7 separate regions of the Homo sapiens genome follow, and all the other regions are linked to region 1. Evidence: promoter capture Hi-C in 16 types of primary human blood cells and fetal thymus (Javierre and others, 2016). All regions are on one chromosome and are shown on one strand. Each heading gives the region's core, a stretch centred on a gene start or on the middle of the fragment in contact. The rest is flanking DNA. Distances are from core to core; before and after follow the strand shown.

Evidence for each region. The method cuts DNA at HindIII sites, captures the fragments that hold promoters and counts their contacts. A CHiCAGO score of 5 or more calls a contact.
Region 2: a contact is called between a fragment that was not itself captured here and the fragment with the promoter of TUFT1 in region 1, in 1 of 17 cell types (erythroblasts). The highest score is 5.3, in erythroblasts.
Region 3: a fragment that was not itself captured here is called in contact with the fragment with the promoter of TUFT1 in region 1 in 1 of 17 cell types (M2 macrophages); the score reaches 5.9 in M2 macrophages.
Region 4: a contact is called between a fragment that was not itself captured here and the fragment with the promoter of TUFT1 in region 1, in 3 of 17 cell types (M2 macrophages, erythroblasts and M0 macrophages). The highest score is 8.0, in M2 macrophages.
Region 5: a contact is called between a fragment that was not itself captured here and the fragment with the promoter of TUFT1 in region 1, in 1 of 17 cell types (M2 macrophages). The highest score is 5.3, in M2 macrophages.
Region 6: a contact is called between a fragment that was not itself captured here and the fragment with the promoter of TUFT1 in region 1, in 7 of 17 cell types (M1 macrophages, M0 macrophages, erythroblasts and 4 more). The highest score is 10.6, in M1 macrophages.
Region 7: a fragment that was not itself captured here is called in contact with the fragment with the promoter of TUFT1 in region 1 in 13 of 17 cell types (M1 macrophages, M2 macrophages, M0 macrophages and 10 more); the score reaches 10.3 in M1 macrophages.

What each region holds. Positions count from the first base shown.
Region 1 is chr1:151,538,491-151,541,972 of GRCh38, forward strand. TUFT1 (tuftelin 1) reads left to right here and starts at 1,819. Exons shown (of 13, transcript NM_020127.3): 1 at 1,819-1,936. The coding sequence starts at 1,877. It overlaps CGN (cingulin), which reads left to right. Exons shown (of 21, transcript NM_020770.3): 21 at 1-202. RefSeq lists enhancers at 564-1,080, 1,596-2,111, 2,112-2,626. The HindIII fragment of the contact is 3,648 bases long and covers 1,470-3,482 here.
Region 2 is chr1:151,987,544-151,991,025 of GRCh38, forward strand. All of the region lies in intron 1 of S100A10 (S100 calcium binding protein A10), which reads right to left. Among named protein-coding and RNA genes, the nearest start is that of S100A10, 4.6 kb to the right of the region's middle. The HindIII fragment of the contact is 1,753 bases long and covers 694-2,446 here.
Region 3 is chr1:151,931,295-151,934,776 of GRCh38, forward strand. All of the region lies in intron 1 of LOC124904421 (a long non-coding RNA gene), which reads right to left. Among named protein-coding and RNA genes, the nearest start is that of THEM4, 24 kb to the left of the region's middle. The HindIII fragment of the contact is 2,951 bases long and covers 484-3,434 here.
Region 4 is chr1:151,915,377-151,918,858 of GRCh38, forward strand. No RefSeq gene overlaps it. Among named protein-coding and RNA genes, the nearest start is that of THEM4, 7.6 kb to the left of the region's middle. The HindIII fragment of the contact is 3,893 bases long and covers 1-3,482 here.
Region 5 is chr1:151,893,209-151,896,690 of GRCh38, forward strand. It overlaps THEM4 (thioesterase superfamily member 4), which reads right to left. Exons shown (of 6, transcript NM_053055.5): 2 at 1,800-1,986. Among named protein-coding and RNA genes, the nearest start is that of THEM4, 15 kb to the right of the region's middle. The HindIII fragment of the contact is 652 bases long and covers 1,441-2,092 here.
Region 6 is chr1:151,814,624-151,818,105 of GRCh38, forward strand. RORC (RAR related orphan receptor C) reads right to left here. Exons shown (of 11, transcript NM_005060.4): 3 at 2,572-2,657; 4 at 2,041-2,182; 5 at 290-802; 6 at 1-72. Among named protein-coding and RNA genes, the nearest start is that of LINGO4, 11 kb to the left of the region's middle. RefSeq lists an enhancer at 318-818. The HindIII fragment of the contact is 5,382 bases long and covers 1-3,482 here.
Region 7 is chr1:151,796,269-151,799,750 of GRCh38, forward strand. No RefSeq gene overlaps it. Among named protein-coding and RNA genes, the nearest start is that of TDRKH-AS1, 7.3 kb to the left of the region's middle. The HindIII fragment of the contact is 189 bases long and covers 1,747-1,935 here.

The DNA of each region.
Region 1 (3,482 bases), core at 569-3,068:
GGGGGATGATTCACCTCCATATTTCCTAAGCAGGTTGTATAGGGAGCCGGTGGCAGGAGGAAGGCTGTTTTCACAAATGACTTGTAATGTCGTGATTAAAAAAATTCCTATATTCTTCTGCAAATCAAACGTTCTTTCCCAATCCAATCCAGCCTTGGTTTTATTTTAAATTAAATATTAAAATTACACATTTATATTGAAATCCTTGGTTTGTCTTCTCATTCTTTTTCTTGGCATATTTGGAGGTCCAGATTTTATGAAGTCATATTAACTGTACAGCTTAGGAGCCGAAGCTGGAGTTTTCTTCACCTGACTTTTCAGAGGCCCTTTAGAACAGAGCAGATGGGACCTACGAAACCTGGAGATGTTTATAGCAGCCCCATTCTCTTCTCTCCTGAACAACCTTCTGGGAAGAACAAGGACAGTAAATGCCTTTTTTTTTTTTTTTTTTTTGAGACGGAGTCTCACTCTGTCACCCAGGCTGGAGTGTAATGGCATGATCTCAGCTCACTGCAACCTCTGCCTCCCGGGTTCAAGCGATTCTCCTGCCTCAGCCTCCTGAGTAGCTGGGATTACAGGCGCGTGCCTCCACACCCAGCTAATTTTTGTATTTTTAGTAGAGATGGCGTTTCACTGTGTTGGTCAGGCTGGTCTCAAACTCCTGACCTTGTGATCCGCCCACCTCGGCCTCCCAAAGTGGTGGGATTACAGGCATAAGCCACTGCGCCTGGCCAGCAGTAAATGCCTTTTTGAGGGTTAGAGTAGAACAGACCAGAACTGGGTTTTATTCCCTTGGGTCATAGTGATAACCCCAGCATTCACTTCCCAGGTAGAAAAATCCTCATTCATTCCTAACTGACATAGGACCCAGTCCCTAACTGGGAGGTAGGGACATTTCTGCTGTTCCTGCCCTAGTGTTGCCTTGAAGAGGGAGCTGGCCCTTCACTAGAGCCTATTGCCAGGTATAGGAGTACTATCCCTTCAGGAGTGGGTCAGACCTCCTCCTAAAGTATTCTGTCTGCTGTCTCTGTGGACCACAGCCAAGTGAAGAAGCCATCTGCCAAGAGCAGCTGGGCGGGGACGAAGCTCCAGGGTCCTGCTTGGCCAACCCTCTCTTCTAGGCCCTCAAGATCCCAGCCTAGGCTTGGGGAGAAAATGCAACTGGAAAAGTCAAGGCTCATCCTTTCTCACGAACACAAATTCCTTTTAAGGCAATGTGTCCCGCCTCTCCCAACTATATAAGGGCAGCGTCAGTAAAAGAGCTTCTGCAAAACAAGCCCCACCCAGAGCCTAAGCTGACTGGGCCTCCTGGGCCTCTTGCCAAGGAAGTGCACCTGCCAGACTGGCTTAGGCCAGTCTGAGTGAGCTGGACCTTGGTGCCTGCCTTTCTGCGGTGGAGGAAAGGTTTACTCAGCTCCACAAAGCCTACAGGTGGCTTACGTATAGGGAGAGGAGCATGTATGGAAGGAAGCTTTTGCAGGTTCCAACTCCTCATCCACTAGGAGCAGGCAGGGTGATTCCCTCTGACCAACACTGATCTTGGAAAGATGGAAAGCGACAAGATTAATGAAGAATGTGCAACCACATACTCCAGATAAAGCTGTTCAGTTAAAGCAGCCCCATGTCGCTCCCAAGCCCCACCTTTGTGTAAATCTATGCGAGCACCGATGGGGCATGTCCCAGACCCATTGGCTCCGCCCACCTCACCTCCTCGCCTATCGTTAGTTCTCTGCGAAACCGCGAACTGGGGGCGCGGCCTATCTTCAGCCCCGCCCCTGATGGGCCTATACAAGGGGGCGGTTCCGCGCGCGCCCGCCCAGTTGGAGCCAGACAGCGGGGTGGACAAGTGGCGTGTGTGCTGCGACCCCGAGGGAAGATGAACGGGACGCGGAACTGGTGTACCCTGGTGGACGTGCACCCAGAGGACCAGGCGGCGGTAAGAAAAAGCGCTCTCGCTGTCTTCTCCGTTTTGTATTCCCGGTTTCTAAGTCCGCCCCTTCCGTGCCCCGCGCCGTGTTGGCTGACATCACCTGGTGCCCGGCTCGCGCGGTCAGCCCTGCGCGGCGCTTCTCTCTTTTTATTCTTTTGCCTGCGACGGGCAGTGGGAGTCGCGGGGTGAAGACTCCTTTGAGGCTGGAGGGTTCGGGGCGTCCCTGCCCTTTGGTAGGACACTGCGGCTCCTGCCTGGGACTCGGCGCCGGCGAGCCCGTGCTTGGGCCGCGGGTCTCAGGCGTCTTTTGGGCAGCCACATTGGGTCATAAGAGAATGAGCTCAAGCGACTGGGTCCCTGAGCGCCTTTGGACGTTGTGTCCTGCCGAGGAGGCTTAGGCTTTCCCGTGGGTCGAGGGTCCTGGTGACCTCCGAGGCCCTCCAAAGAATTTCATCATGGTGCTTTGGATGATCAGTAACAAGAAAAATGGTAGAGTAAATTACAGGGCTTGGACTGGAGGGCGGGGGGCAAGTAGGGGACGGTAGGACTCAAACTATTCCGAGATTGGCTAGGGACTCTACCTTTCGCTAAGGGATAGGGCTTTCCGCCCGGGGGTCACCTCTTGTCTTGGATTTCTCCTTCTTCCCCCTTGTAGTTCTCTTGTTTTCCTCCCTCTATCTGCCTGCCGATAGCTTCCTGGGACGGTGTGTTAGTTTTGCTTCCGTCTCCAGCCGCCAGGCCCTGGGATAGTGGAGGAAGGGGATGCAGAACCCGGGCCGAGAAGGGGAGGGAAGTGACCCAAGCGAAGGCTTCTGGACGGGGAGAGGGTTGCGGAGAAAGGGGGCGTTCTCCAGTGCAGGCTGGTCTACCCCTCTCTCCTCTTTCTCTGGCTCCCAGTCCCAGTTCTCCCCACCCTAGCTGACCATATGGTTTTTCCTCTCCAGAGGCTGAGGAGGGTAATTTGTGGCTGAGTGTTTCTAGGCTCTTTTGGGGAACTTAACCCAGATTAGGTGTGTACTATTTCATCAATTTCCAAGCTATTGTGGGTGGGAGTGAAATGAAAACTAAGGTGATGGGGAACTTGTGTATCATCCCCCCTCCCACATCTGACTCCCTTACTCTCTGCCTGCCTCATCCTGCTCTTGAGGTAGAGCTAACCCAACTGCAGCTAGATTATGGCTCTTCTTCAAACTCATTTCAGGTTTAGAATACAGATGGTCATTTAGTTCTTTTCCCAGTCCCCTCTCCATTTCTGCCTGGGCTATGAGTGTTTTTGCCACATTAAAATACAGATGTTGCTATTGGCCAACCCCAGTTGCCCAAACCCCATTCTTCTGTAGCCTGCCACATCCCCAGCTATGAGACTCTGAAGAGATGGAAGAAATCTATCCATTATGTGTCAGCCACAAGTCCTACTCCCTGCTCTTTGTTTTTAAGCGACGAGTGTCTTGCTATGTTGCCGGAGCTGCAGTACAGTGGCTCTTCACGGGTGCAATCATAGCACACCACAGCCTTGAACTCCTGGCCTCAATCCTTCTGCCTCAGCCTCCTG
Region 2 (3,482 bases), core at 320-2,819, 450 kb after region 1:
TTTTTTTTTTTTTTGAGACGGAGTCTTGCTCTGTTGCCCAGGCTGGAGTGCAGTGGCGCCATCTCGGCTCGCTGCAAGCTCCGCTTCCTGGATTCACGGCATTCTCCTGCCTCAGCCTCCCGAGTAGCTGGGACTACAGGTGCCCGCCACCGCGCCCGACTAATTTTTTTGTATTTTTAGTAGAGATGGGGTTTCACCGTGGTCTCGATCTCCTGACCTCGTGATCCGCCCACCTCGGCCTCCCAAAGTGCTGGGATTACAGGCGTGAGCCACTATGCCCGGCCTATATGTATTCTTTACTAAAGCTCTGAACTTGTTATTTACTGCAATAAAGACAGTTGCATCTCTGGCAGTAAAATACAGTTGCTCTACCCAAACAGAAAACTACTCAAAGTCCATTGTCTAGTTCACTTGAGAAGCAACAAGTAATACTATAACCTAACTCATTTGAGGGCCTCCTATGTTTTTAGTGACATTAGACAGATGAGCTGCTCTCACAGTCTGGGGTACAGTGGGAAAGCAAGAGCTTTCATCATGAAGCGTTTATAAGAAAGGAAAGGAAACATGTCAGATCATTACATTTGGGTATAATGAACTAGGGGTATATGTCTCACAAGACCCAGTACGTGGTACTTAATAGAACCTCAGTGAATTTTGGCTTAATTGGAAGGAATCATTTGGCGAGAACAGATAAGCTTTGGCTAATATCACCTAAAATCACTACTGGATAGGAAACAGGTGAACGTGAATGGAGACTGTAATATAGCACTAAAAAATAAAAATAAATAATCACAAGAATAGGCTTTGAGCTTAGATTGAAGGGCTGGCAAATTCCTCTGCTGAAGAGCTCTAATGGGAACCTGAGACATGCTTTGGTCTGGTTCCTATCTCTGAGAGATGCCTGTTCAACACTGATTCTCAAATGCTATCTTTTACAGAGGAGAAGGTGGAGTGGGTAAACATGAGGATTGAGCAATTAACACTTAAGAATTGTAAATTCTACCCCTTAATCTCCAGAAAAGTATGGGAACCAGCAGGCCAAAGAATGCTATAAATCAGAATCTGGCATGAGTCATCTGAAAGGCAGTTAGTTATCTTGGAGAGAGCTGCAAATTAATGCTTCAAGGTCTGCTGTGAGATGAATTCCAGGGGAACCACACCCTTTTCCTTCTCTTCTGACACAGCTCAGATCTGGCTCATCCCCCATCCCTCATATGGGTTTCAGATGGCAGTGGGCTTACAGAGAGTCTGCCTTGCCTGGACTGGTACTCCAAGTCCAGCAATTTAAGAGAACTGAACTGGGCGAGTCACCTCTGGGAGAAGGACGTGGGATCCCACCCCAGTTCTTAAATAACTCAGGAAAGGAGTCAGACACCACAGAGGTTTAAAAATACCTGTGCTCAAGTTCAGAGCAGCAGAGCACTTCAGGATCAATTCCCAAAGATCCCAGAAATTGGAACTGGGTGGGGTACCTAGTTTACTTTTTTCAGATGACAGGACAGAAGGAAAGTGCAGAATTAAGAAAGGGAATGCAGCAGGGTAAGGACCTCTAAATTTTAAAAAGGCTAATTTTAGGAGGTTCTAAGAAATACAAGTTGTCAGCTGAGGAAATCCTGGCCACCCTTGAGTATCTTCTTCAGGAGAGCAAGGTGAGTCTACCTCACACTGTGTGAGTGCTTAGGTCTGAAGTCACTCAGTCGCATGCCTCTCTTGCCCACAGCCATTACGAAGTGACGGAGCTTCCTTCTCTGAAGTTACATCCTTCTCCCACTTGGTCTTCCCCTCCCCTCCTCCCCCAGCGGTTTTATTCAGTGGATGGATTGTGAATATTGCAGCCAGCTGACTCCCTGTGTGTCCAGTAGGCCTTCTGCAATAAGGATGCAGAGGAGGGAGTAGCCAGGAGGTGAAAATAGCATTGAAAATCAGTGGAGAAGCCCTTGTCTCCTCAGCAACCAGTACCCCAAAGGGCACTGACCAGGGCCACAGCAAGGAACTCTGTTTTGGGGAAGGAGTTGCACACTGGCTTTAAAATAAGACAAAGGAAAGGGGGAAATGTTGTGATTAAAACTCTGTTCTCTTGGCTAGAGGATGAATCATGTAACTCTTGTCTGAGTGCAGCCAATGGTTGCCCAACTGAGTCAGCCCTGCCTGGCCCTCCGTTCTTGGGTGGGGCTTGCCTGGGCAGGGCTGTCTGCAGCACTGCTAGCTGCCAAAACTGAAGTTCTTCAGGGACTTCAATCTGGCATTTCCACCCTCACGTAGCCACTCTGCAAGCTCTATTCCTGGACAGATGTGGGCTTCCTGCATCCTGGTTAGACACATTTTGACAGGAGGGCCTTGGGGCTGGGGCTGAGGGGCTGCAGTGTCCTCTCTATCCCCAATAACGTACTCTTGCACCTGAAACATTCAATTTCATTTAATTGTTTACTTGTCTGCCTGAGATTTAAGCTTCTCTTGATTAAGAACTACAAATTATTCTGCTTTTATTCATGGAGCACTATATAACTGTTATGTGCATAAATGAACCACACAATCCCTTGGGCAGTAGCTGAGGTGCAGGTGTGATTACCCAGGACTAGGCTGAAAGCCTTGTAGCTCAGAGCTCAGGAGGACGATGTGAGAGCTGGGAAGGGCCAGGAAAGGGGCCCCAAAAGTGTTCAACTATGAACGGAACAGTAGATAGAGTACACAGGAGTGCACATTCCATACGCAAAAGGAAAAATATGTGTCCTGCTAAACAGGTCTAGTCAGAATGACATGACTGTGCTCCTTCTCTTCTAACACTTGCTATTTTCTCGTGTTTCATTCATCCCATCTTCTACTTTTTGCTTTTCTAGTGCTGCTATCTCACTGCTGAGCTCCACAGGATAATAACAGCCTTGCTGTCCACTCACCTTTTATTGAAGTATTCTAATCTGATGCCTATACATGCCCTCTACATGTTTGTCTGAGCAACAGGTCTTAAGAAGGGAGGCGGAGACATCTTTCTCTGCATAGTTTTCTCTATGGAAAACAATTCTGGACTCCACAAATTTAGTTACCTTAGGAGGAATTCAATTTTCCATTTTTGGTTCTCCCTCCCTGAGCACCTACTTTGAATGTCCCAGACATGGTGTTAGGCATGAGGGTGTTCACACACACATACACACATGCACACACACACAAAGCTCTCCATGGTGCTTGCCTTTGAGGAGTTCACCAGCTAATGGAATACTATTAAAGCATTTGGCCTGAATTCTAGTTATTTGTGTTTCTGTTTCTTTCCTCACTAGGTTGCAGGTTTTTTGAGCAGGGTCCCAATAGCCAGTGCCCCAGCCCTCATAGAGCCTGCTCGATGAATTGTTAAGAAATTGATAATGATGTATTTTGGTTGTCCTGCGAGTAGCAGACAAGCAGGAGTCCTCCTCAGAAAAGTGTCTGCTCCTGAAAAATCTCAAATGTTTGCTTTGGACCTATGCCCAGATCCCGGCTGCAGTTTCAAA
Region 3 (3,482 bases), core at 709-3,208, 390 kb after region 1:
AACCAAGCAGCCTGTTTATTAATCCCCTATAACTGAGTCTTTATAATACTCTATGTATTTCTCCAAGGGCAACAAGAAGTGCCAGCAACTGCACAGATACTTTTCTGTTTAGCCAGTTAGTAATCTAGAGCCATTCTACTATTTGGCATAACTTTCACAAGATAATTTATTTATTTGATTTATTTTATTCTTTTTTGAGATGGAGTCTCACTCTGTCACCCAGGCTGGAGTGCAGTGGCATGATCTCGGCTCACTGCAACCTCCACCTCCTGGGTTCAAGAGATTCTCCTGCCGCAGCCTCCTGAGTAGCTGGGATTACAGGTGTGTGCCATCACGCCCACCTAATTTTTGCATTTTTGGTAGAGAAGGGGCTTCACCATGTTGGTCAGGATAGTCTTGAATGCCTAACCTCAAGTGATCCACCCACCCTCAGCCTCCCAAAGTGGTGGGATTACATGTGTGAGCCACCGCGTCTGGCGTGGAAGCTTGCTTTCTGAGATTCCAGGCTGTTCTCTTTAACTTGGATAAAGACCTTCTCTTTGGATCATCTCTCTTGTCCTTGTACTCCTCATTTTTAAAAACTGCATTCCCTGTAGTTTCTCCCTAGCATGGGTCCCTGTCTTGGAAGGGAGCCTTGGCAAATGAATTTTGAGTTCATAGGGGCCAGACTGCTCCAGCCCTCTTAAGTCCTTACTGTGGGCCTCTTGTACTTACCTCCTATTGGAGAGATCAGATCTTTCCCTTTTCAGCTGTGTCTTCCATACCTATTACTGTTGGAGAGTTCTCAGGTCCATCAGACACTGTCTCCATTTCTTCATTCTTCTTCCTCACACACTGATGCAGAAACCATGCAAGTTTTGTGACTGCTGGTTTGTCCCCACTTGTTTGTATTTTGAGGCTCGTGGGAATACTTTGTCATTTGTTTTTTTGTAAATGTCTGTAGGGTTTGGTTTTGCTATCTAGTTGAGACTTAGCCTGTTCAGGCTGCTATGACAAAATACCTTAGAGAGAGTAATTTACCAACAACAGAAATTTATTTCTCACAGTTGTGGAGGCTGAGAGGTTCAAGGTCAAGGCACTGGCAGACTCAGTGACTAGAGAGGGCCTGTTCTTCATAGGTAGTGCCTTCCATGTGTCCTCACATGGCAGAAGGGGTGAACAGGCTCTCTTGAGCTTCTTTTACAAGGGCACTAATCCTACCCACAAGGGCAGAACCCTCATGATAGAATCCTTTCCCAAAGGCCCTACCTGTTAATATCATCACCTTGGGAGTTAGTTTTCTATATGTGGATTTTGGGGGCAGGGGAGTCACTAACATTCAGACAATAGCAAGTTGCTCGTTTGTTTTTGTGTTAGGATTAGGAAAGATTGAACACCTATGCTGTTGCCCCTGCTGCTGCCATCTTCCCAGAATCTACTATGCTACAGTGTACTTTGCTTTTTGTGTGTGCATATATATATATATATATATATATATATATATATATATATATACACACACATATATATGTATATATGCTTTTGTGTATATATATACATATATATGTGTATATATATATACATATATATGTTTAAATTAATAGACTTTATTTTTTAGAGCAGTTTTAGTTTCACAGAGAAACTGAGTAGTAAGTACAGAGAATTACTATTTACCCCTACCCTCTTCAAACCCAAACAGCTTCTTCTATTATCAATGTCATGCGTTAGTGTAGTGCATTTATTACAATTGATGAGCCAGCAGTGATATTTTAACCAAAGTCCTTAACTTACATTAGGGCTCATTCTTTTTGTTGTATAGTTCCATAGCTTTTGACAGCTGTGTAGTGCCATGTGTATTATATTTCTGTGAGCGTTAAAAAGAAGAATGACCCTCTGCTTAGAAGCGGCTTACCTGTTTCTGGTACAGACACCTTAACACATGGATTTATGCAAGGGTTTTCATGGAGGGGATTCTATGTAATACAACAAATAACAACCTCAAAGAATCCTAACTGTAAAGACAACAAAAGTCTCACAGGGCTAAACCATGTAATGTCTCTTAATTAAGCTGATGGCATCAAATTTCAGTGAAAGAAATTCAAAGGGAATGGAGGCGACCCAGCAGAGGGGGCAAAACAATATAGTACAGTTATTCAGCTTTCTGGTAATCTGGCCTCAGAGAAACATGTACTGTGACTTATATATACTTCAGATAATCTTGCATAAAGTTTTTTGATAGATATTGAGAGGCAGCACCAACAATATAAATGTTTTCTTATTAGACATTCTTTCTCAAATGCAAGCCATTGTTTTGCTTGAGATTCTAAGTCTGGGTTCTCTGCAAGAGGAGAGATGGGCTTTAAACATGGGTAATAGTCCACTGACAACTGTGACATTTCACCAGCTAGTGTAGAAAGGCATTGGGAATAGCACCAGATTTCTTGTAGCCTTTTTTGTTTTTGTTTTTGTGTGGAACTGTTTGCAGCTATATGTTCCATAAAGTTTTAACCTTTCCAAGTGGTTTTAACCTTTCCAATCAGACTATATTAATAGTAACTGTTTTCCATTTATTTAAAAAACTTTTTTCTTCCATTTCTTTTGAAATTACCTTATAATACCACTGACTATACACAAGGGGGAGATCACATAATTTGTTGACAATTTTGATCAGTATGTTGTCACCAAAACTGCACATTAACCCGAAAGAGCCAAAAGAGTGTGTATAAGTTTCCTCTTGTTGCTATAACAATTATTACAAACTTAATGGCTTAAAGCAACACAAATTTATTATTTTACAGTTCTGGAGGTCAGAAATTTGAAGTGGGTCTCAGGGGGCTGAAATCTAGGTGTCAGCAGAGCTGTACTCCTAGAGGCTCTAGGGAAGAATCTGTTTTCTTCCTTTTTCCAGCCTCTAGAGGGAGCCCACATTCTTTGGCTTGGTCCCTCAGCCAGCAATTGTAAAACTACCTCTGCTTCTGTCGTCCCATTTTCTGTAACTCTTCCGCACCTTTCTTCCTTGCACCCTACACCCTTGTTATTACATTGGGCCTGCCCATGTAATCCAGGATAATCTTCCCATCTCAAGATCCTTACTTAATCACATCTGCAAATCCCTTTTGCCATGTGTGGTAACGTATTCACAGACTCCAGAGACTTACTTGGACCTTTTTGGGGGCCCATTATTCTGACCTCCACAAGTGTATTTAGATAATTATCTATTCTTCCATTTATTTTTGTCCTGAATCTTCTGGATTTTTGGTTAGTAGGTAAAATTTTTGACTATTATAAATTTCCTTTGAGTAATTAGGAAGATTTTATACATTTTAAATTATTTCCTGGTAAACTTTTAGGCTGATATTCGTCAATAAATGAACAGGTTATATCTATCTCAATACCTAACAGTTTATTCTTTAAGTGATGACTATTATCTAATTAGGGACTTGGAAGAACTTCAAAGCTTAGTCTTCTAGATTTTACAAAGTGATAGATTGCTCTATTATTTA
Region 4 (3,482 bases), core at 457-2,956, 380 kb after region 1:
AACTGTCCTTGTGCAAGTTACTAAATCCCTGAGCAGGTACAGTAGAAGCTAAGTCTTGAGGGACAAGTTGGAGTTGGCCCAGCAAATGAGGCAAAAGAGGACATTGCAGGTTCTGTGTCAAAGGACAGCATGAAGTCACCTGGCAAGTTCAGGACACTACTGAGAGTTTCCGTGGAGTTTGGGCATCCAGTAAGAGGGGGTTGTGGTGAAAGATGAGGCTGAAAAGGCTGGAGAAGCAGGCTGGGGCTTCAAGATCCCAAAGGACTCTATTCTCCTATATGTGTTTAGAGATCACTCTGGAGGAAATGGAGAGCTACAGGGAGACTGTTACTAGAGGACTGGCATTATCTGATTGATATTTTAGAAGGATCATGATAGAGGCTCCGGGGAAATTGCATTGGAATCAAGGAAACACTTGAGTGCTTTGTGGGGATTGATAGAGTGAGGGGATTTGGTAATGGATGAGGCCAAGGGCAGGGGAAAGAAGGAGGACTAAGATGTTATCCAGGTTTCCTGGACTACAAATTGTGGAGGTACCCTTTAGAAAGGGAAAAGGAGGAGTATGTTTAGGGGCACAGGGAAGAAAAGTGAGTTCTTTTCTGGATACGTTGTGTTGAAGGTACCGCAGAGATAATAGAATAGTTTGGAACTTAAGATAAAGGCCTGAAAGTGTCCTTTTTTTAGAACACAGAACATATTAGAGACATCAGTAAGAGCAGCTGAGGTGGGGAGGTGAGGCTGGAGGAATGAGTGGGAGGTAAACATACAAACAGGAGTAGACTGACTACTCTTCAGACCTCTTATAGTGAGAAGAGAGGACAGCAGCCAGAGGTGAAGAAAGGATTGTTTTTAAAGAAACATGGTGCTTTCTGTTTTTTAAATACTGAGAAGAAAGTCTAACGATCAAGTTTGATGAGACTAAATTTATGTTGCAAACATATGAGTCTTATAGTGTTTATCTTTGATAGAAATGGGGGTGACTGTAAAGAGAATAATTATGTTTCTGAGGAAAAACTATAGTACACCTGTTATTAGGTTTTACTCCTATTCATTGTTTTCAAATTTTTATTGTCTACCTGTATACCGGACTGGATCCTGTATTCTAGTTTCCTTCAGTATCTGGCTATAATTTTCCAACTAAGAACAAAAATTGCTCTGTTCCTAAAGCCCCAGAGCTGAAGCTGGACAACTCAATGTAAATTTTAAGGGACAAGCCTCATGCCCGATGTGTGGACCACACCAAGTTCACCAAACTGCCCGATGCCATAACCAGAGACATTCAAACTACAAACCCACATGAGTTGTTAACTTTATCATGGGGAGTTTTTCTCAAGACTGTCGGAACAGCTGAGTGCAATGGCTCATGCCTGTAATCCTAGTGCTTTGGGAGGCTGAGGCAGGTGAATTGCTGGGCCCAGGAGTTTGACACTAGCCTGGGCAACGTGGCGAAATCTCGTCTCTAAAAAAAATACAAAAATTAGCCAGGCACGGTGGTGCATGCCTGTAGTCCCGGCTACTCAAAAGGCTGATGTGGGAGGATGACTTGAGCCCAGGAGGTGGAGGTTGCAGTGAGCTGAGATCATGCCACTGCCACTGCACTCCAGTCTGGGTGACAGAGCTAGACCCTGTCTCCAAAAAACAAACAAACAAATAAACAAACAGACAAAACTGTCAGAACAAGACCCTGCCATAATGAGACTATTATTTCCCTTAATTTTTCCTTGTTTATGCCTATCTTTTTTGTCTGGCAGAATAATGCTATCGTTAGAATTTCACAATCAGTAGCTTCTGTGGGTGACTTGCAAATTGTCATTCCATACTTTAACTCAGTCATGAGATTTTCTATTAGCTGAACAAGAAGGAATCATTGCAGTTGCTAACACTTCTTGTTGCACAGGGATAAATACATCAGGTATCATAGAGACTGGGCTGAAAAAATAGACTGGCTACTTGGTTAAGATCGATATACTCCTCATCTGGCTCATTCTTCAATCTATTCTATTTTAGTTGGTTTGTTTCATGAGGACCCTAGCTAAGGAGCATACTCCAGACTCTTGATAATATCCTCCTGAGAGTAATAATAGTAGTCTGTCTGTTGCACTGTATGCTCTCAAAAAGTTTTAAATGTTTGTGGCCGGGTGTGGTGGCTCACACCTGTAATCACAGCACTTTGAGAGGCTGAGGTGGGCGGACCACCTGAGGTCAGGATTTCGAGACCAGCCTGGCCAACATGGTGAAACCCTGTCTGTACTAAAAATACAAAAATTAGCTGGACATGGTGGTGCGTGTCTGTAGTCTCAGCTACTCGTGAGGCTGAGGCAGGAGAATCGCTTGAACCTGGGAGGCAGAGGTTGCAGTGAACTGAGATCACACCACTGCACTCCACCAGGGTGACAGAGCGAGACTCCATCTCAAAAAAAAAAAGTTTTAAATGTTTGCATACAGCCATCTGTTGAATGTCAAATAGTCTGTCTTTGGCTGGAATAACAAAAAACTCAAAGAAATGCATGATGATGAGGACACTAACCTATGAATGATGTGTTGAGACTGGAAACCTAAAATGATGGTAACTGAGACTAGTGCCAATGCCCTTAGTTTTGGTCAGGTTCTCACTTGAGCCTTGACCAAAAGGGGAAAATTGTTAAATAAAAATTATAGGAGGCCATTGTTTTGGACTAAGCTCCTGCACTAGGCCCCAGCAGATCAGAATAAAAATCAAAATGGAGCCAGTCATACTAAAGTTTAATGTAACCAAACCAAAACTAAGTTGTTATTTGATCTTCCTAGAAATCAGGAGAGAGAGAACAGCTTAATTTCCCAAACGGGCATGATAATAAAGTTTCGTCTGCCCTAATCATTACCAAAAAATGTAACCTGATGTTAACAATTAGTTATTTCTCCATTGTTCTGTTTCCTCTTCTCACTGTACAAGGAAAGTAACTGTGAAATGAGTTATCCGCTCTTTGTTCTTTGTTTCTGCTTTCTTCAGCCCTTCTGTCTGTAAAACCAATCTCCTCTGCTCAGCTCATTGGAACACTATTCTGTTTTATAGAATGAGGTTTTGTTTTATTCTAGAATTGCAAATAAAGCCAATTGAGGTCTTCAAACTAAATATTTTGGAATTGTATCCTTTGACACCCCCATTAAGCACTTTCTATATCTAGCCTCTGCCTGTTTCAACATACTCAAACCTCTTTCACATAAAACAACAGTCATGACAGCAGAAACTCTCACACCTATACCCTTCATCCATTGCTACCCCTCTTTCCACCAAAGACAACGTTCCAAAAAAAAAAAAAAAGAAAAGAAAAACCCAAACCAACTTACATTTAAAAAACTCTTTTTGTTCTGGCCCCAGGTATTATTGAATTGTCATTCACAACTGCCAAGTTTAGTGAATATTTGTCAAGCCTTGTCTTACTTAATGTCTTCACAGCAATTAAGAGTATAAATCACCTTTCTTTAAACTTCCTTTTCCCTTG
Region 5 (3,482 bases), core at 517-3,016, 350 kb after region 1:
TAAAAATATAAAAATAAGCTGGGTGTGGTGGCATGCACCTGTAATCCCAGCTACTTGAGAGGTTGAGGTGGGAGAATCACTTGAACCCGGGAGGAGGAGGTTGCAGTGAGCCGAGGTCACGCCACTGCATTCCAGCCTGAGTGACTCAGTGAGACTCATTCTCAAAACCAAAAACAAAAAAAACAAAAAAACAACAAAACAAAAAAACCCAAAACAAAAGAGAGAGAGAGAGAGAGACTGGGAAGAGAGAAATGCAGTTGTGGCATGTTTATATGCTGATACGAAACATCTAGCAGAGATGGATGTCCTTCAGTAGGCCAAAGAAAATGGAATGCAGCGCACAAATGGAAGGCTTGGTCTCCCTAAGAGTGTGGATGGTTCACTCACAGCAGGAAGAAGCAGAACATCAGGCACAGATGCAGGGGGGAGGATATGTGAGGCAATGGGAGACTGGGAGTTCTCTTCTGACTGCTTTTATTTTCTCTTAGTGAGATAGGAAGCGAGACCAACTGAGGGTGAGAAGGGAAAGTATTAGAGGCATAAGAAGAAAGAAAAAGGCAGAAAATACTCATCCAGTAAGGGAGGAGAGTGAATAAACTAGGGAAACATGAAGTATGGTTGTTGGGCAATATTGAGAGCCTTCTTTTTCTCTTTTTTTTTTTGTAGGGGGGGAGACAGTCTCACTCTGTTGCCCAGGATGGAGTGCAGTGGCGCGATCTCAGCTCACTGCAACCTCTGCCTCCTGGATTCAAATAATTCTTCTGCCTCAGCCTCCCAAGTAGCTGGAATTACAGGTCCCCGCCACGAGGCCCAACTAATTTTTTTTGTATTTTTAGTAGAGACGAGGTTTCACCATGTTGGCCAGGCTGGTCTTAAACCCCTGACCTCAAGTGATCCGCCCGCTTCAGTCTCCCAAAGTGCTGGGATTATAGGCATGAGCCACGGTGCCTGGCCCAAGGGCCTTCTTAAAAGTCAGTTAAAAAAAACCAACCACCACCTAAAGATGTGTTTGGATGATTAAAAGATAATGAGTAACTCAGAAATATCTGTGAATGATTCAAATATACTATAATGATGGATATCTGTCATTACACAGTTGTTAAAACCCACGGAAAACATAATACGAAGAGTGAACCCTAAAACAAACTATGGACCTTAATTAAGAATAATATATTAATATTGGCTCATCAATTGTAACAAATACACCACAGTAATGTGAGATGTTAATAATAGGAGAAATTAGGGGTGGGGAGGGGATAAAGGGTATATGGGAACTCTCTGTACTTTAGGCTAATTTTTCTATAAAATTATAATGCTAAAAAAGTATATTAGTAAAAAAACACAGAAGGATAGGAATTGCTATGTGTGTGTTTTGGGTGTTGGGTGGGTTGCCCTGGGGATTTAGATACTGGGAGATGTGGGTATAACCTGAGTGTTCTAAGCTTCTTAGGGTGATATAACCAGATATGGGATAAAGGGTGAAATGAGATTAGATGACAGCCTCAAGACGGAGAGGTGATGAGGTTGTAGGAGGGTGGAAGCTCTCTGGGGCCCTTTCTTCACTCTTGCTAATGGTGATAAGAATGCCAGGGTGGGAGCAGTCTTATTCTTGACAATAGGCTTTATGCTCTCCAATCTGCAAAATTTATTGTGATTTCTGGTCTATAAAATTGGTGACTATAGAACCATAATCCTGCATTATATTCTTTCTTTTTTTCAGGTAGTAACTAGTACTTCAATCTGTTCTTAGCTTTATATTTGATGCTCAGATATATTAATGGGAAAGTGGCTGTTTCTACCAAGAAAATGGGTTTTGAAGTCTTGAATCCATTCAGTAGGTGTACGTTTATATGAAGGCAAACGTTTCCAGGAGCCGTCTTCACATTTCTTCATAAACTGGTCAAAGAGCAGTCTTAGGTCCTTGTTCCAGCTGGGGTTGGGGACAGAACAGTCCTTAAGAATGACTTCCTCAGAAGAAAATGACCTCTAAAAGACAGAAGAAAAAGAAAAGTAAGTAATGGGAGGTGCATTCTATTTCATAACATATTCTCCCAATTTCTAAGATTATCTTGCTGCTTTTCTTCTCCCCATAAGCTTGTCACTTCAAAATGGAAGGGAATTTCAGGGATCATCTGGTCCAACCTCCTTGGGAAAATGAGAGACTGAGAGAGGGAAAATGATTTGCTCAACATCACCCAGCGAGCTATTGACAGAGCCAGGATTATGCTCAGGTCTGCTGATTCCATTCTTTTTTTCCAGACTTTAATCAAGCACAGGTAAGCCCAGCACACTGGAGATGGAGGTTAAGAACAGGCATTATCTTCCATGTTGAAAGTGCTTCCAGTGGCTATGCACAGGAAGTTAGGGGATAAGGGAGAAGTACTCATCTAGGATTAGGGGTTCAGGAAGGGGTTCTTTGACTTGAATATTGATTAGATAAGCAGAAATTAGCCAGCTGGAAAAAGTATTACAGGAAAAAAAAAAAAAACACTGGAATATAGTTTGGATGTGTGTTCCCGCTCAAATCTCATATTGAAATGTAATCCCCAAAGTTGGAGGTGGGCCCTGGTGGGAGGTGAATGGATCATGGGGGTGAATTTCTCATGGACGGTTTAGCACCATCCTCCTCGGTACTGTCCTCATGATAGTGAGTTCTCATGAGATCTGGTTGTTTAAAAGTGTATAGTACCTTGTGCCTTGCACTCTTGCTCTTGCTGTGTCCATGTGAAGTGCCTGCTCCTGCTTTGCCTTCTGCCATGACTGTAAGTTTTCTTGCTTCCTTTTTTTTTTTTTTTTTTTTTTGAGACAGAGTCCCACTCTGTTGTCCAGGCTGGAGTGCAGTGGCGCAATCTTGGCTCACTGCAACCTCCACCTCCTGGGTTCAAGTGATTCTCCTGCCTCAGCCTTCTGAGTAGCTGGAGTTACAGGTGCCGCCCCACCACACCCGGCTAATTTTTGTATTTTTAGTAGGGATGAGGTTTCACCATGTTGGACAGGCTGGTCTCGAACTTCTGACCTTAGGTGATCTGCCCACCTCGGCCTCCCCAAGTGCTGGGATTACAGGAGTGAGCCACTGTGCCCGGCTGACTGTAAGTTTTCTGAGCCCTCCCCAGCAGCCAAGCAGATGCCACCATCATGCTTCCTGTATAGCCTGTAGAAATGTGAGTCAATTAAACTTCTTTTCTTTATAAATTACGCAGCCTCAGGCATTTCTTTATAGCAATGTGAGAACAGCCTAATGCAGTGGGCAAAAGAGGCATGAAACAGTTTTGAGGGGCCTTATTACAATCATATGAAGTAGGTACTATTTATTATCCTCATTTTGCAGATGATGAAATTAAGGCCTAAAAGAAGTTTGGCATTATTAGGGTGCAAGAATAGGGGCAGATGGCTGCAGAAATGCATGTAAAACCTTAACACTAAGCTAACTGGCTTGAATTGTATCTGCAGTGCTCTCTGAGGGATTTTAAATGGGGGGTAAC
Region 6 (3,482 bases), core at 1-2,500, 280 kb after region 1:
GCCGCAGCAGGTCCTCCAGCCGCAGCTGGCATGTCTCCCTGTAGGACTTGCAGACGCTCTGCACCAGGTGCTCTGGGGCCGGAGAAGGAAGGCATGGCTTGATCTCAGCCAGCTCCTACGCCTACCCATGCAAGGGCACTTCTCAGCCTGGCCTATCCTGCTCCGCCTCCTCCCTCCGCCCCTCGTCTGGACCCCTCAATTCCCTCAGGCGCATGTTTGATTGATACGGGGTACTGGTGGAAACCCCTCCCTCATCTCTACCACCCTCTCCACCTCCCCAGCTGCTCACCTATCTCTGTCAGGGAGGCATAGGGTGCCTCCGGTGTGCTGCGGAAACTGGGGCTGCCGTAGCTGTCTGGGCCCTGTCCCAGTTCCCCAAGCCCAGGATGCCTGTGTTCCTCAAAACGAAGTCCACATCGGTCAGGGGTCAGCTGGCTGCCTGTGCTATAGAAGCTCTCTCTGCCCTCAGCCTTGCCCCGCTCAGGGCTGTATTCAAGGTGGCATGAGGCCCCATTGAGCCCTGCCTTGGCCAAGTTGTTGGAATATGAGGGCCCAGAGCCTGAGGCTTTCAGGAGGCCAGGGGGACAGGCAGAAGCCTCAGGCAGGTCAGGCGAGGAGCCCAGGGGCAGCTGCCCGTCTGGGAGCCCCAAGGTGTAGGTGAGGGTATCTGCTCCTTGGGCCCCTGCTGGAGGGGTCTTGACCACTGGTTCCTGTTGCTGCTGTTGCCGCTGCTGCAGCTGTTTCTGCACTTCTGCATGCAGGCTGTCCCTCTGCTTCTTGGACATGCGGCCGAACTTGACAGCTGAAAGAGGTCCAGGGACCAGGGGTTTATGAGGCAGGAGAACATGGCACAGGGCAGGGTCAGGAGGCATTTGGTCATTAAAGGATTAACTTGCTGCTCTCTGAATGGCTGACTCCAAGCACAGCTTCTCTAGCCTTTAGGGAACTTATGCTCAAGACCCCGTCCACCTCTCACTCTTGTTTGCTTCTGGGGTCTGTCCAGTCTGCCATTTCAATCTGCTAAGCAAAATCTTCTAAGTTCTAAATCAGATTTGAATCATGGCAGAATTCAAGCAATGAGTCTAGGCTGGGGATTCTGGCCTCCAGATCTTGGGGCTGGGGGTGGTCGAGCAGAGGGCCTCAAGCTGTATTGGGGTCACCTCGCCTCTTTGGGAGGGTCGGAGGAAGAGGAGAGCTGAGAACACAGGTCTCCCTGTGGTCAGGCCTGCAGGCTCCCTGGTGACCTAGATACTCACCACAGCCCAACCCGGGCTCCGCGGCTTGTTTCTGAACATCCTCTTCTGCTCTCTCTTTCCTGCCTTTTTACTCCCCCCGCCACCCCTCCCAGGTGTAGGGGCACAGCCCCTCGCCCCGCCTGCCCCTTTGCACCCCTGCGTGCTTCCTTTTGCTTTGTTATTTTGGGCACTGAAAAGTGCTGACGGGCTCCTTCTGGCTCCTCATCACCTCATGCCCCCCCAGCTCCACCCTAGGCTCCTTCTGTGGTGGTGGAGGTGTGCAGGGAGACTGGTGAGGAGGTGGTGGGTGAGGAGGGTGGATAAGGCACCAGGAACACCAGCCCTCCCCCACGACCACCCTCTGGTTGTTCTCAGGCCAATTCTGTTTCCATTCCTGGCTATAGTCCTGTGTCCAAGTATGGGAATGGGGGATTAGAAAAGGAGATAGAGCTAGAACTACAACAACAGGGTAGCAGGGGAAGGTGCCAGAGCTGCATGGGAGCTGGGCCAGAGGGCAGCAGAGTGAGGAGAATTCGTTCCAAGTAAGAAGAGATGAAGAGGTATGGGACCTTGGAAAGAGGATGTTTGTTCTAGCAAAGCCTAAAGTTGGGGACTCCAAAGAACTTTGATGGGGGTGACCCATCCATCCCTGGAGGGGAGGAGACAAGGGGTTGTAACGGGGAGGAATGGAGAGGAGACCAGAGGATGGGCCGTCTTGCAGGTTAAGCCTTGTCTAGCTCAGCAGGCCAGGCTGCCCCTCTGGAGACACCAGGAAAACCCCAGGGGGCTGTCGACTTGGCCTCACCATCTCGGGACATGCCCAGCGCCAGGCATTTCTGCAGGCGGCAGTGCTGGCATCGGTTTCGGCTGGTGCGGTCGATGGGGCAGTTCTGCTGACGGGTGCAGGAGTAGGCCGCGTTACAGCGCTGGCTCCGGCGGAAGAAGCCCTGGGGAAAGCAGGTGGAGGGCAAGACTGCTTATCCTGGTCAGGCCCAGCTCACTCACAAAGGCCTCCAGCCCACAAGCTCTGGCAGCTTTTCTACATCCCACGACCTGTCAGTTTTCTCTCTCCTCCATCTATTTGTGTAATTGCAATTTATCCTGTAGTCATTTCCCCAGCTTAAGACAGGGCCCTGCCAGTGTTGAGGGCCCTGCAGGAAGGCGCTACTCAGGCATTTTCCTGGCTGCCCAGGAGATCATCCCTGGAGTCAGAACAAAGGCCATTAACCCCCTTGTTTATCTCTAAGGAGACACTGTGTGTGTGTGTGTGTGTGCGCGCGCGCGCGCTTGTGTATGCACACGCACACATGCATGCATACACATGCCTATGACTCACCTTGCACCCCTCACAGGTGATAACCCCGTAGTGGATCCCAGACGACTTGTCCCCACAGATTTTGCAAGGGATCACTTCAATTTGTGCTGGAAGAGAGAAAGAGAAGTAGGTCAGCCCAGGAGGCTTTTCTGCATTCAACCACCATGTACCTGGGCTGCAGATACAGGTACCTGGTGCTTCCACTACTTCTCCAACCAGCTCCAGCTTGCTGTTTCCCTCTTGCAAAATGGAAGGGGAAGTGAAATGCCAAATGCTTCTCAGCAAAGGGTGTGAGGAAGCTGTGTTTGTTTCACAGAGGAGGGGAGTGTGGAGGGGTGGCCGGGAGTTGTATCAGTGCTATGGAGGCAGAGAAAGCAGCTGCAGAGGGGCCACCTGCTCAGCCCTTCGAGTTGAAAAGCTCCAGTTGCCTCCCTCCCGCCTTGGGACATAGGACTCCTCACGGCCTCACAACACCTGCTTCCCGCCGAAGGGGCTTCCTCTGTGCCTCCCTCCCTCGCTGGGGCTCAGCTCCCATGGGCAAAGTGTAGGGTATAGCAGGAAGATGTGGTACACAAGGGGTGGGGGATAGGCAGAGATGCCAGTCCTTCCCAGCCAGACAGTGAAGGCTCAGGGAGGTGCTATACAGAGACAGGGTGAGGGGGTGGCAGGGAGGAACCCAGGAAACGGGGGCTCAACACCCCAGCTCTGCTGGATGCCTGAGAGCCTAGGGAAAGAATTAGCCAGGGCTCTTAGGCTCTTGGCCCCAGAGCAGAGAGAGGGTGGCTTTGTGTACATCCGTGTGTCTGAGTGTGAACACTTATGTTTGTACAAAGGCATCTGTATCCATTTGTGTGAACATGAATCATCAATGTTAAAAATGGCTGAGACTAGAGACCATCTCATTCAACCTCTTCATTTACCGATGAAGGACT
Region 7 (3,482 bases), core at 591-3,090, 260 kb after region 1:
GCCCTAGGAAAGAATTCTCCTCAGCCTCTCTGACCACCACCACCCAGCTCTATCTTCCTACTTAATTCCCCTTACGAAGCAATTTGGAGGAACAGGACCCAGGAGTCCCTGTTTTCAGATACTCTCCAGCCTGAGTCACCACCGTACTGACTTCTTACAGCAAGAGTTCCACCCAAAGTCTCTTGCCTCTCCCTCAGATGGGTGCTGGTGGGAGAAGGGGACAGGGGAGGAGAGAATGATGGAGCATTTTTGTGTGTTTTCTTGCTGGGCCCATTGTAATACCTGCTCTTACCTGTGCTAACATCCACTTTGAACGGTAGTCCTTCTCAGCCTTTTCTCTTTGCCTCTAATGGACCCTGGGGAGCAAAGGTGGCCTGAGGCCTCAGTTTCTGCTGCAACCTGTGGCTTCTTATAGCAGAATTTTTAACCTATATTCTATGGAGTCTGTGATGGCTTCAGAATAACTGGATAATTTACAAACATTTTTGTTCACAGCTTGCATCAGGGATTCTCAGAGGGATCTGTGACTCAAAAAAAGTTGAGGATCATTGCTTAGCCGGGCTCTCATCTCCTGAATCAGGGATCCAGCACAGCACAGGAAATAGAAGTCAGAAATAGAGAAAGATTGTATGGGGGAAGGAAATGTGAAGTGCTGAGATGGTGCCACAGCATCTTTGGGTCCAGAGTTCTCTCTCAGCTTAGGTAAGACCATGTCTGAGATGGAAGAGAGAGGGGTAGAAGGAGAGCAGGATGGAATGTCCTCAGAAAGGTTCTGTCAAGCAGGGGTAGGCAGAAGGTAGGCAGAGTCAAATTCTTCTCCAATCTGAAGTAGCTCACAGATTGTTCCACCAATCTGTGCAACCTCTCTCTAACCTAGGAGGTTGTTGAGGTTAGAACCCAGAAAAGAACTAGGAAATGTGAAGCCTCCATTTCAGAGAATCCTTTGCTGGAAGCCAGGCATTTCACTGAAGTCCATTTACTCCCTGGAATTTCTGCTCCTTTCTATCAGTCCCTGAGGCAGAGGCTGTAAGGACATTGGGAGAGGGGACTGAGAAGAAAGAGTAAAAACAAAGAAAAACCCCAACATCCTGAATCAGGTGCATTAGAGTTAATGAAGAATGTAAGGACCAATAACTTAGCCCAGTCCCCACTGAAAGTTCAGAGTGGATGCATTGGAAGATTTCTCCTTTCTTACAGGTCGTGTCCTGCAACTGAAAGGCCCTGGGAGAGAGAGCCGTGAGGGCATGGCAGTGAGGATGGCAGTGTGGTGGAAAGGGGGAGTTTTCAATCAGACAGCCATGAGCTCAAATAGCTAGTTACTATTTACTAACTAGCTCTGTGCACTTGAGCACTTACTCTCTTTGACCTTTAGTTTCACCAGCTAAGATGCCTCTCTACTTTATAGGGTTGATGTAAGGATTAAATAAGAAAATATATATAAAGCCACTGACATAGAATAGGCCCTCAATAAATGTTATTTTCTTCTCTTTGAACTGCTGTCCCACCCTGGGCAGAGCCTCCATTAGATTGTCCCCATGATGTGGTACCATACATCCCTGCACATGGGCCACAAAACTTCTGCATACACACCACCCACTCATGTCCTTGGCTGCATTTGCACACTCATCAGCACACACACAGCAGCCTGTGCCATCACAGCTGAGCTGAGGGCAGTCTTCCCGACAGGTAAGATGAGGGACTGGCATGCTAACGCTTGGACAAGCTGTGGAAGTGCTCATCATAGTAAGCTTGTTTCCTGAATGGGCTTCACCCCTCAAAAGTGTTCTGGTAAAGCTGTGAAAGGAGACTAAGGGGCTGTGGTGGGACTAACTCCATAGGCATTTCCTTGAGATTAAATGTGTTTCTTGAGGGATACTTTGTCCACCCACCACTGCCAAGGAGACCTTAGTCTATACGCCAGGTTGCAATGTCTGAAGCTTTGCTGTCCAATATGGTAGCCATTGGCCACATGTGGCTATTGAATGCTTGTAAAGGTAGGTGGTACAGCTGAGGAATGGAATTTTAAATTTGTTTAATTTAAAATTTAAGACAGAGATTCGATTCAGTTATTGGAAAATGTTTTATGTTTGAAAAAACTTAGATGTGTGAATCCACTTTCTCAACAGTGACCTGTATGAAATATAGATTTTTCTGGTGAAAATTTAGTAACTGAATTGCGATGTTGAGATGTACTGTAAGTGTAAAATATACACTGGATTTTAAAGACCTAATATGAAAAAATGTTAAATATTTTATGATTGATTTTTATATTGATAATATATTGAAATGATAATAGTTTGGGTATATTGGGTTAAATAAAGTAAGTATTTAAATGTATCCGTTTCATTTTGATTTTTTAATTTAGTAGCTACTAGAAAATTTGAAATTACATGTGTGACTTAGATTCTGTGTCTGTTGGGTAGCTCTGCTCTGGAGACTTTGAGACTTCAGAGACCTTGGGCAGCAGCATGTCCCAGCACCAGACAGTCATCTGTTCCCCAGAGCGTCAGGGGCTTCCCAGAGAAGATTTCTCTGAACAGCATTGCTGCTTCCGCATTGCAGAGAGGGCAACTAGAGTGAGAACCTTCAGCGTCTGACTCCCAAGTCCCAACCTAATAAGCTGCTGGTGGAAGGTTATGGAAAGGAGCGGGAGGGCTGTGCCCCAGGAAATCTGTCTGGTACATTATACACTAAAGAAGGGGAAGTTGCTGGGATGCTGATTGAGTTGTGTGTGCATGGTGGGTGGGGAGGTTGCAGGCTCAGGGAAACTCGTTTCTCAAGCAGGTCAGTTTCTCCAGCCCCACTCTCCTGTCTGCCTGGTTCTCACATTCACCTCTGGTACTACCCCCATATTCCTATCTCTGCCCCACTAAAGAGCGGCCTGCCTGTGAAGTCCAGCTTCACCTCCTCAGTGGCTCTGAGTGTCTCATCTGTCGGGCAGTTTGAGCTGGGAATCTTCTAATGAGTGGAGTCTCCTCAGAGCAAGGACAACAGCAGCAGGAATCAACTAGAAAGCTCACAATGCTTGCATCTGGTTTGGTGTAGGGGTGGGTGGGAGGAAACTAAGGACGCTGGGTAGATGCTACTGCGCAGAAAGGCTCCCTAGGGCCACGTGATTCTTCCCTTCTCAGTCCCTCCTCCGACTCCTCTCCTCTCCCTGTCACTCCTCCCTTCCAGTGATGCTGAGGCTGTTGCTCTGTTCCTTGAGCTTCCAGCATCTCTACTTCTTTTTGGGCTCTGCTTTGCCCTCTATTTGAAGCACAGTCAGTGGTACTCAGCAGTTTCACCTCCTACTCCACCTCCCCATCTGGGGGTCTCTGTAAATCAGTGACCTCTACCCGGAGACAGCTTCCCACTGGGGCTGCACTAAGCACAGAACCAGAGGAAGCTGCAGAAGGATGGTGGAAATTAACTAGGCAGGCAGTTACTGCTGTTCCCCCTTCCCTCCACTTCTCACTACAGCCTGCTGTGCCCTCCTCCCT